2 separate regions of the Homo sapiens genome follow, and region 2 is linked to region 1. Evidence: promoter capture Hi-C in human tissues and cell types (Jung and others, 2019). All regions are on one chromosome and are shown on one strand. The core of a region is centred on a gene start or on the middle of the fragment in contact, and the rest is flanking DNA. Distances in the headings are between cores, read along the strand shown. Region 1 holds the start of YIPF2 (Yip1 domain family member 2). Region 2 holds the start of ELAVL3 (ELAV like RNA binding protein 3).

Region 1 (5,779 bases), core at 1,943-4,442:
CCTCCTCAGGGAGGCCTGCCCTGCTGCACCCTGCAGAACTGCAGGGCCACTCCTCCTGTCTGCTCTGCTGCTCTCTACCCGCCACCCTCTGCAGTCCTTCATGTCTCTGTCTCCCTGAACAGCAGGTAAGTCACACTGTCTGAGTGACTGATTTGTCCGCAGCTATACACTGGCATCTGCAACTCAGGCCACACTTGTTGAGTGATCCATCAAGGAACCAAATGCACAACCTCACTCACCATACAGATCCGGCCGATTCCGCAGATGGTGCCGCACAAAGTTGTGGCCAGGCCGGGGCAGCAGTGAGCCTTTGATCCGGTCCAGGACCTGGGGGCAAGGCCAAGGTCAAGGATGGAAGTCTGCCAGGAGCTTCTCCCTTGTCCTGAGAGGCTCCTTCCCTGCTGACCTCCACCCTTCTCTTTCCATGCCCCACCTGAAAGAACTCAGCCTTTCCCTCTCTTTTTTTTTTTTTTTTTTTTTGAGACAGAGTCTTGCTCTGTCGGCCAGGCTGGATGGAGTAGTGGCATGATCTCGGCTCACTGCAACCTCTGCCTCCCGAGCTCAAGCAATTCTCCTACCTCAGCCACCCGAGTAGCTGGGATTACAGGCGTGTGCCACCACGCCTGGCTAATAGTTGTATTTTTAATAGAGACGGGATTTCACCATGTTGGCCAGGCTGGTCTCGAACTCCTGACCTCAGGTAATCCACCCACCTCGGCCTCCCAAAGTACTGGGATTACAGGCGTGAGCCACCGTTCCCAGCCCCCTCTTTTTTTTCCCTCTTTTTTTTTTTGTTTTGAGACGGAGTCTCGCTCTGTCACCCAGGCTGGAGTGCAGTGGTGCCATCTCGGCTCACTGCAAGCTCCGCCTCCTGGGTTCACACCATTCTCCTGCCTCAGCCTCCCAAAGAGCAGGGACTACAGGCGCCCACCACCACCCCCGGCTAATTTTTTGTATTTTTAGTAGAGATGGGGTTTCACCGTGTTAGCCAGGATGGTCTCGATCTCCTGACCTCATGATCCTCCCACCTTGGCCTCCCAAAGTGCTGGGATTACAGGCGTGAGCCACCGCACCCGGCCTCAGCACCCCCTTTTTCTTTTTGAGACAGAGTCTCACTCTGTTCAGGCTGGAGTGCAGTGGCACGATCTTGGCTCACTACCACCTCCGCCTCCCAGGTTCAAGTGATTCTCGAGCCTCAGACTCCTGAGTAGCTGGGACTACAGGTGTGTGCCACCATGCCTGGCTAATTTTTGTATTTTTAGTAGAGATGGGGTTTCACCGCGTTGGCCAGGCTGGTCTCCAACTCCTGACCTCAAGTGATCCACCGCCTCGGCATCCCAAAGTGCTAGGATTACAGGCGCCGACCACTGCACTTGGCTAATTTTTCTATTTTATTTTATTTTTTATTTAATTTTATTTTATTTATCTTATTTTATTTTTGAGACAGAGTCTCATTCTTTTTGCCCAGGCTGGAGTGCACTGGCACGATCTTGGCTCACTGCAACCTCCGCCTGGCGGATTCAAGCGATTCTCCTGCCTCAGCCTCCAGAGTAGCTGGGATTACAGGCGCCCACCACAAAGCCCGGCTAATTTTGTTGTATTTTTAGTAGAGACGGGGTTTCACCATGTTTGGCCAGGCTGGTCTCAAACTCCTGACCTCAGGTGATCCACCCACCCAGGCCTCTCAAAGTGCTGGGATTACAGGCATGAGCCACCCCGCACCCGGCAGTTTTTGTATTTTTGGTAGAGACGGGGTTTCCCCATGTTAGCCAGGCTGGTCTTGAACTCCTCAGGTTATCTGCCCACCTCGGCCCCCTTAAGTGCTGGGATTACAGGCAGGAGCCACTGCGCCCAGTCCATCTTTGGTCTTCTGCATATGCTGTTCCCTGTGCCTGGAACATATACTCCTGCTTCCCTACCCTATTCCCCAGGGAAGCCTTCTGTCTCCTTTAGGTCTCAGCCAATTCCTCACCTCCCCCAGGAGGCCTTTCTCTAACCCACCAGATTGTGTGTGTCCCCTGTGTTCCCATAGTCCCGATCCATAACCAGTCCCACCATAACCCTTTGAGAGCACCACAGTTCGTTCACCAGCACCCACCATCACCAGCACCCTGCCCAGGGGAAGAGTGGCTGAACCCTGAGCATAACTCTGAGCCCCATCCCACCTGCCTCCCCAGCCTGACCTGTGAGGTGTCCACGTCAAAGAAGCTCTGATAGTAGCTGAAGGTCCAGAATCCCGGCTGCTGCTGCTGCTGCTGCTCCTGCAGGAGCTGCACATTGCGGGCATTCAGTGCCTGCCCGGAGAGCCTGGGTCAGCTGGGGGCTGCAAGGAGGCAGGACACAGGGACTCACCGCGGCCTTGTCACTCTCCTCCTCCACCTCATCCTCGGCTCCATAGCTGCCACCTGAGCCCACGGCCACAGCCACGTGCCCTTGTGGGGTCAGCTGATCGCTTCTGCTGGTGGTGGCTGCATCTGGGGTGTCAGCCAGAAGATTAGTGGCCTCCTCGAATTCTGTGGAGGAGGTATATGGGACACACGCACGTTTGAGGGGTGGAAAGAACTCGACTGGGCCCAAGCTAAACCGATGCTCATCTGGGGGCGGAGGCTCTGCTGAGCCATTGATCTCCCCCAAGGTGGGGCCCAACTTCCTCAGTTTGGAGGCATCCGGAGGACATCTGTTCCCTTCCTCCTAAAGTGGAACTGCAACTTAGGGTTGACGCTGGGATGGGGTCAGGGTCTGGGGACGAGAGGCTCGGGTTTGAGGTCTGAGTTCAGGGCGGGGGCGGGGTTCGAGTCAGAGATGGGTCTCACTCCTGGGTCAGGGTTCACAGCCGCCTAGGCTTCGGGGTAGAGAAATTGGAAGCCGTATCGGGGGGAGGTTCTGGCCCGGGGCGGGAGTGGGAGATCCGGCCACGTCGGGGCCGCACTCACCATGGAAGGTCAGCTCGTCGGCCGATGCCATGGTCGTTCAGGGGCGTCTCCGCATCCCTCGCTGAGGACAGAGACCGGTCAGGCACACTTCCCCCCCGCCCCCGAGCCGGTCCCTCGGCCCCCAGCCCTACCTGGCGACCAACTGCACCCACGGAGGCTTGAACTCGTCGTCCCGTCCCCACAGGTGCGCTCCGCCCCCCCTCACCTGAGGCCACCTGGGCCGGCGTGGCTGGGGCTCTCTGCGCCTGCGCGTCTCGCCTACCCGTCAGACTCCAACCGACTCAGACCTGACAGCAACATCCGGCGCCTGTCCTCTTTCTATCCTCTCCCGTTGGGAAGCCACTTCCGGTAAAGTTGGCGCTTGCGCAGAAGAGACTCCCGGGCTCTTAACGTCGGGTATCAGGAGTTTCTTCCCGGAGCAAGGACCCCCAAGACGGAAGAGGATGGCCGCGGCGGCTCTGAGGAGATTTTGGTCCCGGCGCCGCGCAGAGGCGGGCGACGCGGTAGTGGCGAAGCCGGGAGTGTGGGCGCGGCTGGGTGAGTAGCGGCGGAAGGCGGCAGGGTGGGTGGCCGCCGCGACAGGGTGGGTGGCCGCCGCGGCCGGATCACTCTTACCGCGCTCCTCTCCCCTCAGGGTCCTGGGCCCGCGCGCTGCTCCGGGACTACGCCGAGGCCTGCAGGGACGCTTCGGCGGAGGCTAGGGCCCGGCCGGGGCGCGCCGCTGTGTATGTGGGTCTGCTGGGCGGCGCGGCGGCCTGCTTCACGCTGGCGCCCAGCGAGGGTGCCTTCGAGGAGGCGCTGCTGGAGGCGTCGGGGACCCTCCTGCTGCTGGCGCCGGCCACCCGCAACCGCGAGTCCGAAGCCTTCGTGCAGAGGCTGCTCTGGCTGCGGGGCCGTGGCCGCCTGCGCTACGTCAACCTGGGGCTCTGCTCGCTGGTGTACGAGGCGCCCTTCGACGCCCAGGCCAGCCTCTACCAGGCGCGTTGCCGCTACCTGCAGCCCCGCTGGACCGACTTCCCCGGCCGGGTCCTGGACGTGGGCTTCGTGGGTCGCTGGTGGGTGCTGGGGGCCTGGATGCGCGACTGCGACATCAACGACGACGAATTCCTGCACCTGCCGGCGCATTTGCGGGTGGTCGGGCCCCAGCAGCTGCATTCCGAGACCAACGAGCGGCTCTTCGATGAGAAGTACAAGCCTGTCGTGCTCACCGACGATCAGGTGGACCAGGCGCTGTGGGAGGAGCAGGTCTTGCAGAAGGAGAAGAAGGACAGGCTCGCCCTGAGCCAGGCCCACTCGCTGGTGCAGGCGGAGGCCCCGAGATGAAACCCTGAGGCCCCCGAGTCCTGGCAAACTGCTTGCCTGGGGTGGTGCAGTTCTGAGTGTGCCTCACCTGCAGAACAGCTGAGACAGATGATGTGCAAAGTGTTTTCTCACTGGATTTGCACAAGTTTGGGGAGCCTTTCTGCCCCCCGTCTTTGTTCTTTATTAGCTGAAGCTAATTCAGAGCCACCTGGGTCCGGGAGTTGGGGACAGCAGAACGACTTGACACATGTTCATCACTGGCAGAGCTGGTCATGAGCCTTTTATATAAGCCTTTTTCATCGGGCCTCAGAGGCCCTCCTTAAGGAGGTACCACATTGGTCAGCTGACTTGCAAACTCTTCTAAGGCCACTTAGATTTTCTTTTTCAAGTTTGGGTTGTGGCCTGGCATGGTGATGTCTGTAATCCCAGCAGTTTGCAAACTGAGGCAAGAGAATCGCTTGAGGCCAGGAGTTTGAGGCCAGCTAGAGTGACATAGCAAGACTCCGATGCTACAAAAAAGAATAATAATAGTAATTAACTAAATAAAATTTGAGCTGAAATGTTTTTATTCTATGACCTATTCTCTCTCGTTTTTTTTTTTTTTTTTTTTGAGACAGGGTCTTGCTCTGTTTTGCCTGCTGGAGTGCAGTGGTGCAATCTCGGCTCACTGCAACCTCTGCCTCCCAGGTTCAAGTGATTCTCCTGCCTCAGCCTCCTCAGTAGCTGGGATTACAGGCCTGTGCCAACATGCCTGGCAAATTGTTGTATTTTTAATAGAGATGGGGTTTCACCATATTGGCCAGGCTGGTCTTGAACTCCTGACCTCAGGTGATCCACCTGCCTCGCATTTCCAAAGTGCTGGGATTATAGGAGTGAACCACCACACCTGGCCTTTCATTTTGATAAGTAACATTTTTGCCATTCCCAGCTCTTTGGAAGGCTGAGGTAGGAGGATTGCTTGAGATCAGGAGTTCAAGACCAGTTTAGGTAAAATAGTGAGAGCTTTCTCAAAAACTAAAATATTTGGAAGGGTAAAGCAGGCAAATCATTTGAGCTTAGGAGTTCAACACCAGCCTGGGCAATATGGCAAAACCCCGTCTCTACAAAAAGTACAAAAATTTACCAAAGGTGTTGAATGAGAATTGAAAATATGTATACATAGAAAAATTAGCCAGACATGTTGGACCATGTCTGTAGTCCCAGCTATTCAGGAAGGCTGAGATGGGAGGATCACCTGAGCCTGGGAGTTCAACGCTGCAGTGAGCCACGATCGTGCCACTGCACTCCATCTTGGACAACAGAGTGAGACTGTCTCAAAAAGTAAAATAAGTGGATGGGCCCGGTGGCTCAAGCCTGTAATCCCAGCACTTTGGGAGGCCGAGGCAGGTGGATCACGACGTCAGGAGATGGAGACCATCCTAGCTAACACGGTGAAACCCCATCTCTACTAAAAATTCAAAAAAATTGGCCGGGCGCGGTGGCTCACGCCTGTAATCCCAGCACTTTGGGAGGCCCAGTCAGGTGGATCACGAGGTCAGGAGATC
Region 2 (5,779 bases), core at 989-3,488, 550 kb after region 1:
CGGCCCCCAGCTGCGGCCCCTGGCCCCAGTCACAGTGACAGATGCCTGGATACCGGCGACAATAGGGCATTGAGTGGCTATGCATGGTGAGGCTGGGCTACCACGTGGTGCTGACTGAGCCTCCTACTTCTGGGCCCTTCTTCAATGCAGGGTCCTCCTGGTCTTAATTTGTCACCTCTCTTCCTCCCAGCCTGTCCCCATGATACATCTCTGCCCCAGGGCTCGCTCACTGGAGAACCTAGGTCCTCAAGGCCCTTGTGTGACCTCTGACCACACCCTCTTTCCCTTTGTGCATTAGTTTCCTTTTTCAAATGAGAGAACCGATCAGAGGACGCTTAGGAGATGCTGGACTGTTGCGGGAGTTCTGAGGTCCTCAGGAGGCCACACTCCAGTTCCCAGACCTGGGTGAACAGCACGAGGCCCAGAGAGGGAAAGGAACGGCCTGAGGTCACACAGCAGGTGAGCCAGGCCTCCGGGACCTCATTTCTCAGAGCCAGGTGGGCGGGTCCCAGGGTCCAGGAGGGGAGAGGCTTAGGCATGGAGGGAGCGCCAATCATGCCCCCACCCCCAGTGCTAGCCACGACTCGAAAAAGGGGCCCGGAAAGAGACACAATGCACAGAGACACACACGCAGAGACGGAGAGATAGGAAGAGTGGAAGAGGGAGGCCCAGGCGCCGGGACCAGACAAAGGACGCGCGGCGGCGCGGGGAGCGGAGTCGCGCGGCAGGGGCGGGGGTGGAGCCGGGGTGGGGCTATAACTGGCCAGCCCCGCCCCCGGGATACGCCCGGGCTGCCGAGTGGGAATCCGAGGGCTCGGGCGAGGCCGGGCCCCCGGGGCCCTGGGGGCGGGGCCTAGATGGGCGTGCCCGGGCGTGGCCAGGCAGGGCGTGGCAGGGCGGGAGGGGCTGCGCGCTCGGGAGCTGACCAGCTCCGTGGCTGCTGAAAGCACCGAGCGCGGGGCTAGCGGTGCGGGCGAGCAGGCGGGCGGGCCGCGCTCAAGGTCACCTCGCGGCCCAGAGCCTTGGCGAGGTGGGGAGCCTGGACCTGGCCTAAGGGGGCTGTCTCGGCCTCCCACCCCATCTCCCGGGGGGCGGAGACCCGGGAGCCCAGAGGTGCCCCCCCAACCCGCGGGCCCTCCTCTCCCCTCCCCCTCCCCGCAGCCCGAGGCGCCCGCGCGAGGCTGCGGCCCGCGAAGAAGCGCCGAGAAACAAAGGGACGCGGCAGCAGCGGCGGCGGGCCCGCGGGGCCTCCGGGCGCGCCCCCTCCTCTCCCCTCCCCGCTTGCCGCAAGGTCGACGGGCTCGAGGACGAGACGCCCGCCTCCCGGGTGCGGCCGAGGCCCGGGGCGCGCGATCCGACGCCACCCGCTTTCCCAGGGCTCTCGGGGACGCTTTGTCGCTTTGGCTTGGCCCAGCACCAGTGATCGGGCCCTGCGTTTGCCTGGGCGGCCTGCGGGGTCTGGGCCTGGATGGAGGAAGCATCCTTAGCCGCCGCGGCCCCTCCCCCATCAGGCCTGCTGGAGAGGGGGCAATCCCGCCTCCAGGGCGGCGTCGGACGCCTCCCGAATCGCAGTCAGTCTCCCTAAGGCCCTCTCAGACCAAGCTCTAAGCGCCCTCAGCACTCTGGGCGCGGCCCTGCCCACTCTCAGGCCCCGAGGCTTGGTCCTACCCCCCCAACCCGGGCCTAGCTAGGCCTGGTCCTACCCCCCCCGCCGCACCCGCCCAATCTCCGCGGAGCCTGGGCCCAACTCCTCCCCGTCCCGATTCCCTTTCGGCGACAGGGGAATACCTACAGTGACCATTCTTGTGTGCCCGGCGGGCGCGGTCCGTGTTGAGGGGGGCTCCGGGGGTGGTGCACTCCTAGGGGGGCGCCCGATGCTCACGCTGGGGTCCCGCCCGGGCGGCCTCTGGTGCGGCCGCTGCAGATGTGGCGATGAAGGCGGCGGCTCCCTCGAGGGCCAGGGACGGGCCCGAACCCGGGGATGCGCGCGCGGATGGCCGGGCCCCGGGGTGGCCTGCGGGCGGCAGGGGATGGAAAGAGGGAGCGGGCGCGGGGTTGAGGACGCCCCCTGCGCGGCCCCGCGGGGCCCGGGGAGGTTGCGCTTCCCGACAGAGATCGCGGCGCTCTGCCTTTCGCCGCCGCCCCTCGGTCGGTCCTGTCCGGTCCCGTGTGTTCAAGTCCTCTCCCCTCGCCCACCCTCCCTCCCTCCCTCCGGCCCGCGCTGCGCGCTCCGCGCTCTGGACCGCGCCGCCGCCGCCCCCAGCCCTTTATAGCAGCAGCTGCCAGCGCCGGCGTCGCTCATTGGCTGCGGCGACCGAGCTCCGCCTCCTCGCGGCTCCCGACGGCGCGGCAGGTGGAAGTGAGCGCGCACTGGTCGGGACTCTGAATCCCCCAAAAGCGCATCCTAGGTGCTCGGGTTGCCAGATTTGGGCCCTCCTTCCCTCGAGGCCCTTGCTTCCTACCCTGGCACCCCTTCTTGGGCTGGCTTTCGGGCCAGGAGACGGGCTCCCCTCCTCCGTCCAGCTCCTAGAGCTGGAGGAGCCAACAGAGCGAGGAGGTATTAGTGGCCTGAATATGCGACCTTCCAGAGGTGTTGTCCACTGAGGGAACTGGACAGGGGATCAGGAACCAATATTTTAGTAGGCAGAGGCCTGGGTCCCCAGATTTGGAGGCACCAGTGTAGACCACCTCAAGACCACGGGGGAGGGTGGCTACTGTGGCCCTAGTCTTCTGCAGAAGGAGACTGGGACGCTGTTGGTTTTGAGTGAGCTGGATCCTTCTAGGGTTCAAAAGGTAAGGACTGGCACTCCCCAGTGCAAGGAAACTCCGCACTGCTCCGAAGGGGGTGAAAAGGTTTGGGGCTCAGTGTTCTGGACAATCATCGCTGGAGCCATGCAGCTCTGGGAAACCACGGATCCTTCTTGGACCCCACAGAACTGGGGTGGGTGGATCTGCCACATAAATGTCCTGGCTTTCTAGGCTCGTGATTGGTCCTCCTGACTGTGGAGTCATGCTCGCTCTCTGCTAGGGGGAACCTGGCCTCTCTCTAAGGCGTTGGGGGTGGCGCAGCCTCCTTTGGTGCGCGGGCGCCGGTGCATGTTTACGTCGGGGCGCGGGAACTAGCACACACTGGGGCGGGGTCGCCAGGGCGTGAGGCTTCAGCACCACAGACAGCAATCCGACAGTCCGGTCGAGGGCGCTGCCGGCGAGGTAGCCCAGACCCCCTAACTGGAGAGCGGCAGTCCCCACCCAATCCTCGTTCCTGCACGCCCTTTAGGCTCCAGACTGTCAGAGAGCGCCACCAGCGAGGAGAGCCTAATTTGCCCAATCAGGGGCGGCCCTTGAGATAACCAGTTACTGGAAGATGCCCTAGAGATCGAGCCAATGGGAGTGCGCGCACCAGGGGATGCTGCCACGCCTGGAAAGGGCAGGCCAATCGCAGTGGCCCGCGCAATAGGGGCGGTGGCGGTGCAGATCCCCGGGTGGCCCCTCTTGGGCTCGCCGGGGCGACCTGGCTGCGGGCGCTAGGGGCCCCAAGCGATGGTCTGTTCCCCACCCCGTGTTCCTCCCGGTTTCCGTCATCGGAAACTGAGCTAGGAGGGGGGCTGCTCCTGGGCGCGCGGACCCCGCTGCGGTTCCCATGGAAACCTGCCGGCTCCGGCAGTGCGGGGAGAGTGGAGGGGACCTGCCTCGCGGGGGGAGGGAGCTCGCGGGGGCGGCCCCAGCGGCCGGACTCGCTCATCCTTGCCGATTCTTCTGTCCCCGGCTGGGGTAGCCCCCCGGTCCGCAGCAGGAACTGAGGCATAGCTGGGGCCCCGCCTCATCCCCCGAACTGGTGAGGAACCGGCGGGGCCAATCTGCGCGTGGCGCCACAGGGCTCCCCCGGGCACGTGCCTGAGCTCGCGGCTGCGGTCCCCAGGGTCACGTGGCTGCGGCCACCAGGGCCTACGCGCCTCGCACGCCACCTAGCGGCCGCGCCTCGCTCCCCGCCCCTCTCTCTAGCGGCCCGCAGGAGGCGGCGGCCTCAGCATCCTCCTCCGGGAAATGGGGCCAGGGCAGCCGCCGCCAACTCCCCTTCCCCCCGCGGCTTCCTGTTTTAGGAACACGCCGAGCTAGTTCTACCTCGGGGTTTTGGCACTGGTTGTTCCTCTGGCCTGAGAATTTCCTCCCCCAGCTTTCTTCTGGGATAGATCTTTGTCATTCTGGTCTATGCGCAAATGCCACCTCCTCAGAGGCCCTCCCTGACCACCGACCTAAACAGCATCCCCGGAAAACAACGCATCACTCTCTCTTTTGCATGGCGCTTGTCGCTAGCTGCAAATGTTTCTCATTTTAGGGGTTTACTGAACACCTCCCCATCTCATCCCGGAGCTCACTGAGGGTGGGAGATGGGTGCCCCATAAAACAGGAGGAAGTGGAAATTAGGGTCCTGAGTTCCGGGAGATGCCCAGAGACCCCAGACCCCCAAGCCTCACCCCATCCTGTGGGAGCAGGGGCTGTGCGAGGCTGCTGGGCCCAGGGGCATCCCTCGTTCCCTGCCTCGCTTAGGAAGGGATCAAGTAGGCTGGAGACAGAGAGGGGCCTGGCACCCCAAATCATTCAGGCCTAGGGGAAGGGCATCTCCTTTCTCGCTCTTTAATCTCACTCTGCTCTCTTGACACAGTTCCAGCAATGCAGCCCCAGGCACCAGCTCCGAGAAGGATGCGGTGGGGCGGGGTGGGGAACCTGCCCAGGGGGCCCAGCTCTGGGGCGGGGCGGGGGCGCCTCCTTCCGGCCCGCGGTCCGGGCGGCCCTCGCAGCTGTCCAGGCCCCGGCAAGCCCGGGCGTGGTGTCCGAGCGGACGAATAAATAGGGGCGGTCAGTGGTCAGGTGGGTCAGGTGGGCTTGTGATCCGGGTGGCTTTTGAGCGTGTGGAACTTGACGCTGTCCAGCTTCTCGAAGCGCTTCCCGCAGCGATCGCACGTGAAGTTGTACTGCACCTCCGCAGTGTGCTTCTTCATGTGCCAGTTGAGCGACGCGCGCTGCCGGCACTGGTAGCCACAGATCTCGCACCTGCCGGGAGCCCGTGGCGGGACGGGGCGGGGTCAGAGTGGGCGGGGCGGGGCGGGGCCCTACAAGGCCGAGCGCAGGTGGAACCGGGCCCAGACACTGCGTTGGGGCGAAGCCGCCCCTGGGACCTGCTGGGATCCCCTCCCACCCAATCCTCTAGCGGCACGGGGCGGCCTGTCACTCACTGCAGGGGGGTCTCGCCGGTGTGGGTGCGCCGATGTACCTCCAGGTGGTTCTTCCTCTTGAAGGACTTGCCGCAGGTCTCGCAGGTGAATTCACGGACACCTGGGGGCGGTGGGGACCGAGGCTGAGGACGGTGGGCTATGGGGTGTCTCTGATGTGCTGCAGACTCTGATGCTAGAAGGAGCATCAGGCTGTCTCCTTGGATCTCCCAGGACTGCAGGTGCAGGCCGACCAAACCCTACGTCCTTCCCGTGCATTTGCCCACAGACGCCATCAAGCAGAACTGAGATCGAACTTGGGTCCCTGAGAGGCATAGGGTGCACACTACCAAGCCAACATGGGTCTGAATTTGTCTTGTGTGTGTGTATATATATATTTTGCGACGGAGTTTCGCTCTTGTTGCCCAGGCTGGAGTGCAATGGCCCGATCTCGGCTTACCGCAACCACAACCTTGGTCTCGCGGGTTCAAGCGATTCTTCTGCCTCAGCCTCCTGAGTAGCTGGGATTACAGGCATGTGCCACCAACCATGCCCAGCTAATTTTGTAT

The links. The method cuts DNA at HindIII sites, captures the fragments that hold promoters and counts their contacts. A contact is called where the count stands out against the background at its distance.
Region 2: the fragment with the promoter of ELAVL3 here is called in contact with the fragment with the promoter of YIPF2 in region 1 in 3 of the 25 tissues and cell types used here (dorsolateral prefrontal cortex, hippocampus and lymphoblastoid cells).

What each region holds. Positions count from the first base shown.
Region 1 is chr19:10,925,447-10,931,225 of GRCh38, forward strand. YIPF2 (Yip1 domain family member 2) reads right to left here and starts at 3,193. Exons shown (of 10, transcript NM_001321439.2): 1 at 3,065-3,193; 2 at 2,934-2,994; 3 at 2,353-2,513; 4 at 2,184-2,270; 5 at 240-327. The coding sequence starts at 2,964. It overlaps TIMM29 (translocase of inner mitochondrial membrane 29), which reads left to right and starts at 3,365. Exons shown (of 2, transcript NM_138358.4): 1 at 3,365-3,470; 2 at 3,568-4,808. The coding sequence starts at 3,377. The coding sequence ends at 4,256. RefSeq lists enhancers at 1,824-2,526, 2,527-3,227 and silencers at 3,441-3,720, 3,761-3,810. The HindIII fragment of the contact is 42,517 bases long and covers 1-5,779 here.
Region 2 is chr19:11,478,808-11,484,586 of GRCh38, forward strand. ELAVL3 (ELAV like RNA binding protein 3) reads right to left here and starts at 2,239. Exons shown (of 7, transcript NM_001420.4): 1 at 1,793-2,239. The coding sequence starts at 1,801. ZNF653 (zinc finger protein 653) reads right to left here. Exons shown (of 9, transcript NM_138783.4): 8 at 5,235-5,334; 9 at 4,622-5,052. The coding sequence ends at 4,875. RefSeq lists silencers at 757-951, 3,326-3,575, 3,606-4,045. The HindIII fragment of the contact is 31,814 bases long and covers 1-5,779 here.